Linked DNA regions of Homo sapiens: region 1 is linked to region 2. Evidence: promoter capture Hi-C in 16 types of primary human blood cells and fetal thymus (Javierre and others, 2016). All regions are on one chromosome and are shown on one strand. Each heading gives the region's core, a stretch centred on a gene start or on the middle of the fragment in contact. The rest is flanking DNA. Distances are from core to core; before and after follow the strand shown.

Region 1 (3,670 bases), core at 500-2,999, 300 kb before region 2:
TGCTGAGTCCATTGTTTCCTGTGCAAAATTCAGTTCACCAAGAATACTATTTTCACCAAGAAAGCCATAGACTGTGTGTAGGTAAAGAACTTTTGCGCTAATGAAACTTGTTATTGGCTGGGACTAGGGGCCTAAATACTAGTTTGAGATTCTGTTTCTGCTGTGCCATATAGCATGAGATCCCACTTTTGCCTCTATAAAGCAGGGCTATGGTTATCTTTCCTTATTACCTCAGTTGATTGTTGGCTGTGAGAACCAAGTAAGATATGCTTCATGGAATAACAGAAGAATGCAAGATATTATCACGGGAGGCAACATTTTTGGGATATCACATATTAGTGGAAACTTAAAGAATATTTGAGAGGTTATCTTTGACATTTACATAAAACCATGTATGAAACAAGTAGTTCTTGTGTTTTTTTAACCTATGAACTTTTTCAAGTGTTTTCTCCACAACATTCCTCTCTTCTACCAAAGAAAATCAGTTTACAGTCATGTGTTTTGTAAAAGCCTAAATGGGAATGAAGGTGGTTAGTAAGAGGGTTCACAAGATGGAGAGGCTCCCATGACATTTGTAGGTTTAATCTCGTGCCCCATGACCTCTTAAAATGTCCCCATGCCCATTCAGAATACCCCAATTCACTTCAAAGGCAAAAACAACGTGACATTGTGAAATCATACCAGATGTTCTAGTAGAACTGTGTTCTGGTCCTATTGAGTTCACCCAGGAGAGGCATCAAACTCTGCAATCAGAACATATCAACACATGGCCTATTAGCTGATTCTGCCACTTGGTAGCTGTATATTCTCTCTCTGTTTAGTGTCCTTATCTGTAAATTGAAATAATAATAATAGCTCATAAGGCTTTGTGGGGATTAAGTGAGATAATCATGTACAGTGCCCAGCACAGTGTCTACTGCATGGTAAATACTGCAAAAATGTTAGCTGTTGACTGCTCCTATTTATGACCTTCATTATTAAAAAGGGGAACTTAGGCTGACGCAGGAGAATGGCGTGAACCCCGGGGGACGGAGCCTGCAGTGAGCCGAGATCACACCACTGCCCTCCAGCCTGGGCGACAGCGAGACTCCGTGTCAAAAAAAAAAAAAAGGTGGGGGGGGGGGAACTTATGAATGCCTTTCACTTATACCAGCATCATTAAAAATTTAAGTTTTTTAAGAACCATGAAAAGCTAACCATTGACAATTTAAGAAGCATGCAAGCTTGGTTTACAAAAGAACTGGACAAGCTCAGAATGGGCTAGTTCAGTGGAGTGACTGCTGCAGGAGCTCAGGTTTTGAGACCTTCCTGTCTTCTTCCTTCATCCTTCTCCTCTTTTTGTGTTCTCTCCACACACTTTTCCTCATCAAAGCCAAAACCTTTGTTCTTGCTATATTCTCTTTTTAGAGCCTGCTCACAGTAAAATTTTAAAAAAATGAAGAAGTGCTGAAAGTGTAGATAAGCAATTAGACATGAGTTAATGTTTTTTATTTGCAAGAGCATTTGCATTCTAATATGAACTGAACATTGAGTAAATAGATTCCTGACTCCCTAACAGGGCTATGTCTTGTGTCAGGAAGCCAGCGCACTGGGCTTCTTGGTAGGCAGGAGACCCAAGTCATCATCTGCTACTAAGGCTGGGTCTTGGAAGATGGAGAAGGCCGTAGAAGAAAGGAAAGCCAAAAAAAGAAAGGAATGAGATTTTGATATATTAATTAGCTCATACTATAAGCCTGGACTTTTGCTAGGCATTTTCCATGGTAATTTGGTTATACCTCAAAACAATTCTCAACATTATTATCACTGCCACCACTTCTGTTAGCAGCTGTGAGAACAGAGGTCATGTGAGTAAGCAGTTTGCTAAGGGTTGCATAGCTTAAAAAGTAGTCAATAAGCTAAAGTTTGAACCCTGAGATGCCTGGCCTTCACAGCTAAACTTTTATTAATTACACCTGCTTCTAACAACAACAACCATGGCTAAAGTTTCATTAACCTACCAGTTTCTAACAACATTAACAAAAACATTTTCAAAAATATAATAATAGTCATCAATAGGAATAAAGGGAAACAATCCAAAAATAGCTCTGTTGAGGTTACTGATGGATGGGGACAGGAAAGTACAAAATTTTTTCTACGAAAGTTTCCCTTTGAGGATCACTTTCCTTGGCTGTCTTGCCTTGTGAAATTATACCTTCCCTAATGGCTTGGAGCTGATTGTGCCCTTCTTTCTGTCAAGGACAGCTTAAACTTCATGGAATAGTTTATTTGAAGCTTGTGGGTACCAATTCCAGGCAGCAAGATACTACTTTCAGAGATTCAATTAACTTCCTTCAGAGTCACAGCAAAAAGCGATAGAGCTAAATTGATTACCTTGAAGTGCCTTAACCGTTTTGCTGCTGTTGTTACTTCTTGAGCCAATTTATTCTCCCAGCAATGTCACTGTTACTGAAGTTGGTCTGTTCTTTATTCTCAGTTTATGAATAGGAATCATCTGAATATAGTTATAGACCTCTAGTCTAGATCATTTTTTGCAAAATTACAAAGATGGGAAAATTTCCAAGCCATAGTTATTCCAAATGGCTGGGAGTGCCTTAGGAACTTATTTCTGGAGTCTTTTGAACTATTTATATTATTGATATGAACAATGCCCCTGATTGTTAGTTAGCAATCTATTCATTGATAGGGACATGAAAGGCAGTCTGCTGCCATCTAGCTTTTTAGTTTCTATCTTTAGGAATTTTCCGGTCCTTTCACAGAAAGACACTTTTTAAAGGAGCAATTCTTACTTCATCCCTGAGAGGGAGACACTTATGAAGGTACTGCAGAATCTTAAAAAAAAAGTCTTCATCATTCTTTTACTTCTTTTTGCCTTTAAGTTGGTCTTAAATGGGTAAAAGTGATAAATGTAGGTTGTGTAGTTCAAATCCATTGCAGTGACTAAGCAGTGACCACCCATAGGGGCAAAAACTATGTATTTTTAGAGGCAAAGATTGATAACCACAGCCATGACCCTGAGCAAGACTGTGAAATAGATGCAGTTCTTTGCCATCCTCCCTTTTCCTGAGTTATGGGCACTTTCTGCCTTCATAGCTGTTTCCTCTGCAAAATGGAGATTTTACTGTCAGAAGTCTCCTATTGCTATTGCTTCTTGGAGTTGGTTCCCATGCTCTGGGCACAGGAAAGCAATCTGAGATCTTCACTACTAGTATTTATTGAGCACCTATACTATGCCAGGACTGGACTGTGCTCTGAGGTCACAGTGGTAAACATACCGACATGGTTCCTGCTGTCATGAGCCTTCCAAAGGAATAGCGAAGAAAAACATTAAACATATCAGCCCATGATTAAATGCATAATTAGATAAAATGCATTGAAGAAGTAAAGATCCCAGGAAAGGAGAGAACCAATTAATATGATGGATGGGAAATCAAGGCTGCTGGAAGGAAGTAGTGTATAAGCTGAAAAATGAGGAGTGAATAGGAATTAGCCAAGTGAAAAGCAGAGGCAAATGGGTTTCAGGAAAAGGAAAAACATATGTACCAGTAACATTTCAAGAAGAAATGGGAAGGATTAGATGATTTCTGTTATTCTTATTAGGTTGATCTCTTCCATGGAAGAGACACACAGAATGTAATTAATTTATAGAATATAAAAATGATTTTTTTTTTTA
Region 2 (3,316 bases), core at 535-3,034:
TAGGCTAACTATGGACAGCTCAAATGATCATAAAACAAGTCAATGTCCTCTTAAAATTTCCTACATTCCTATATTATGGGAATGAGAGAGAGAGGAAAATATCAAAACCAAACCATATAGTAGATGCACTACCATGGCAACTAGGTGATGCTATACTTGCATATGGAAGTTATTCAGTAAAATGAAAATGATTGTGTTAGAGCCATAGGCGAAAGTATTGTTTGTGATCTTTAGGGTGTGGGGTTACAATGGACTTCCTATATTTGTGTGTAATGCTTCAATTTTTATAACAAGCATGTAATATTTTTTACATTCTTAGAATTGGGGAAGCTATACAGAGCAGGTATTTTATATTTACCATTTAAAATTATTAATATCTTTAAGCTTGTTAAGGGGGAAAAAAAAGCTTCAATCTGAAACTTTAATTCACCTGGCAAGGTTTAGGCAGTTGTTTGTCCATCTAAAGTATATATTTACATAGACTGCGGGGTGGAGGAAGTAGAACAAAAAAGAGGCAAATTTTAACCTAGAGTACTCAAAGTGAACAGTAAATAGTTCAAGTATTCTTGATAACAATAAGCCACGTGGCACATGTAACAACTACTTTAAAAGTTACTCTAACTTTTACAAAGTTCACATAAAAAGCTATCTCAAAAATCCCAGGAGCCTAAATTCAGTCCATGAACTTTATTTGTTGTGCCATGTTAATTTATGGAGTCTAAATTTCAAGGGCAGAATTTCTTCTCCAATACCTGTAGATTCAAAGACAAAGACAAGGGATCCCACCACTTAGTGTAAGTTTCTCAGTATCTTCTTTCCACTCGACAATGACAAAGTTTTATCAAATGGACCCTTGGGAGTTTGACTTCTCCTCACTATGAATGGTTTGCTTATTGCATGCTAATGTAGAAAAGTTCTCCCACAACTGATCTGCTTAGGGACAGTGTCCCTGGTGCCCTGGGTCAGCCTTTGTAAACAGAACAGGCTTTTCTGTATGCCTTTGAATATGGTCTTTCCGTTTTCTCAAAATTGTAGTGTACTCTGCACATGGTGGGTAGAAACACCCTTCCAGATTTTCTTCCTTGGCCCAAGATCATCTAGGTCTTATGCAATTCACAGGGGAAAGGAGTAGTATGCAGGACATGCGTAAATTCTCCTTACCATGTGGTTCTTTCACATTGCTGTTCCTTTAAGAGAACTCTTAGGCAATTCGGCATATGAAAATGCAGCCTATTGTCAAATTTGTGAATTATAAAGCGTTCCGACCCCACAACATTGTATATTTTGTTTGCTTGTTTCTGTCCGCCCCAACATTTAGAAGTCTGGTACTTAGTAGGGACTGGGCTGGGTAGAAAAAGAATGCGGTCTTAATTCCCACAACCCTGCCTCCTTGAAGTAGGTGAATCCTAAGCCTTTAGAAACGAACCCCCAGAAACCCTAAAACTTAAACCCTCAGAAACCTTGAGGGTCCTAAATAACCTTGTTTGTGAAACTTCGCAGGAAGCAGCCGGTCGTGGAGTCGCAGAGGCTCCAGCGGTCTGGGCAACCTGGAGGGCAGTGGCTCGGCGGGGCGCGCGGGGTTCTAGCGAGACAGGTGCGCGGCCGTGCGCGCCTGCGTGCCGGTCCCTCCTGAGCCCCGCGGCGGGCGCGACCCCGGACGGCGGACTGCAGGCGCTCCACGCCGGGTTTTCCGCCGCTCTCCTAGCACAGACAGTCCCACAGCAGCCCCACAGACACACACGCTCGCGCCCGCGCCTCCTCGTCTGCACTTCAAAGCGAGTGGCGCCCGGCTGCGCCGGGGGGATGGCACTGCGAGGTGGCGGGGCCCCCGGGGCAGAGCTCGAGGGGAAGGACGCGGCGGGTGGCACGGACAGGGACAGGCTTTTGCAATTCGGAATCTTTTCGTAAGGGGGTTGAGGAGGAGCCAGGCAGCGCCGAGGGCCGAGAGGGGCGTGAGGGGGAGTGTTCCCGGAAAGCTGCGGCGTTGGAGCCGCGCTGCGCCTGCCGCCCGAGGAGTTGAGAAAGAAAACAGGAAACGTGGTGGCCGCGCACCCGGCCGCGGCTGATTCATTCACTTCAAGTGCCGTGCAGAAGGCTCGGCAGGCGGGGCGGGCGTGGGGCCGCGGCTCCGGGTTGGGGACCGAGGAGATCCGGCTGTGGACCAGACGCTCCTCTGCGGGGCGGGCACCCAAGCGCGCTCGCCACCCCCTCGCCATCCGCTAGAGCCGGGCTCCTGGACTGGGACTCGGGCCCGCCGCACAGTTGAAAAGTCGCATAGTGGTTTTTCCGCTCGCGTCGCTGTGTGAAAGTTGGCTCGCCGCTCTTTGCACGCCCTCCCTGGAGGCCGACCCGAGACGCCAAGCTGGAGAGACCGTGCCTCCCCGAGGCCGGCCGCCCCGCGAGCACAGCCTCCGCCCCCGTTGCACTGCCGGGCTGGGCAATATGAAGGAGCAGCCCTCATGTGCCGGCACCGGGCATCCGAGCATGGCGGGGTATGGCAGGATGGCCCCCTTTGAACTCGCTAGCGGACCCGTGAAGCGCTTGAGAACTGAGTCCCCCTTTCCCTGTCTCTTCGCAGAGGAGGCCTACCAGAAACTGGCCAGCGAGACCCTGGAGGAGCTGGACTGGTGTCTGGACCAGCTAGAGACCCTACAGACCAGGCACTCCGTCAGTGAGATGGCCTCCAACAAGGTAAGCCCCGGTTCTGCTGTCACTGGTGCCCCCAGGCTGCTGATTCCCATGCCGGCGAGCCACTGGTACCCATAGCCCCGGGAAATAAATTGAGAGGTTTTTTAGGCTTACTGCATGTTGGCTATTCTGCTCCTTAGAGGGAGGTTCCTGTTTCCTTGCTTTGCCTCCCCTAGTCACGCCAGATAAACATTTTCCAAAAGCAATTTGACGTGCTAAATTTAAGTATCTCCCAAGACACAGGGTTCCTAAGTAACACTGAGCCCTTGCAGCAGAAACCCAGTAGGGTCCATGGGCATTGCATGTTTAAAGGTGTTCTTGGGATTCCCGGTTGAAAATAAGAATTGGTGGATGTCTGTGAAATCACTTGAATGTCACCACCTAGGGCACTCAAACTCAGAAGAGTTCATCGAACTTGGAACCTTCACCCTAATTCATCTAGTTGTCAGGGTACCCCGCAAGAACTGAGCCTTTATATATTCAGTTGGCCATACATATCCGCAGGAAACATTAACAGAGTTAGAAGGTTCCTTATGATCATTACTTTTGTTTCCATTAATCTTGGAAAGAAAGCCCAGTTTTTTGAGGTCATTTAGTACAAGGAGGCTTCAACTAGGCATCTGTGCCA

The links. The method cuts DNA at HindIII sites, captures the fragments that hold promoters and counts their contacts. A CHiCAGO score of 5 or more calls a contact.
Region 1: a contact is called between a fragment that was not itself captured here and the fragment with the promoter of PDE4D-AS1 in region 2, in 2 of 17 cell types (fetal thymus and naive CD4 T cells). The highest score is 7.3, in fetal thymus.

What each region holds. Positions count from the first base shown.
Region 1 is chr5:59,334,778-59,338,447 of GRCh38, reverse strand. The region is part of intron 1 of PDE4D (phosphodiesterase 4D); the gene reads left to right. Among named protein-coding and RNA genes, the nearest start is that of PDE4D-AS1, 300 kb to the right of the region's middle. The HindIII fragment of the contact is 1,048 bases long and covers 1,226-2,273 here.
Region 2 is chr5:59,038,234-59,041,549 of GRCh38, reverse strand. It overlaps PDE4D-AS1 (PDE4D antisense RNA 1), which reads right to left and starts at 1,784. Exons shown (of 2, transcript NR_198970.1): 1 at 1,480-1,784. PDE4D (phosphodiesterase 4D) reads left to right here. Exons shown (of 15, transcript NM_001104631.2): 6 at 2,579-2,691. RefSeq lists a silencer at 2,346-2,415. The HindIII fragment of the contact is 4,461 bases long and covers 409-3,316 here.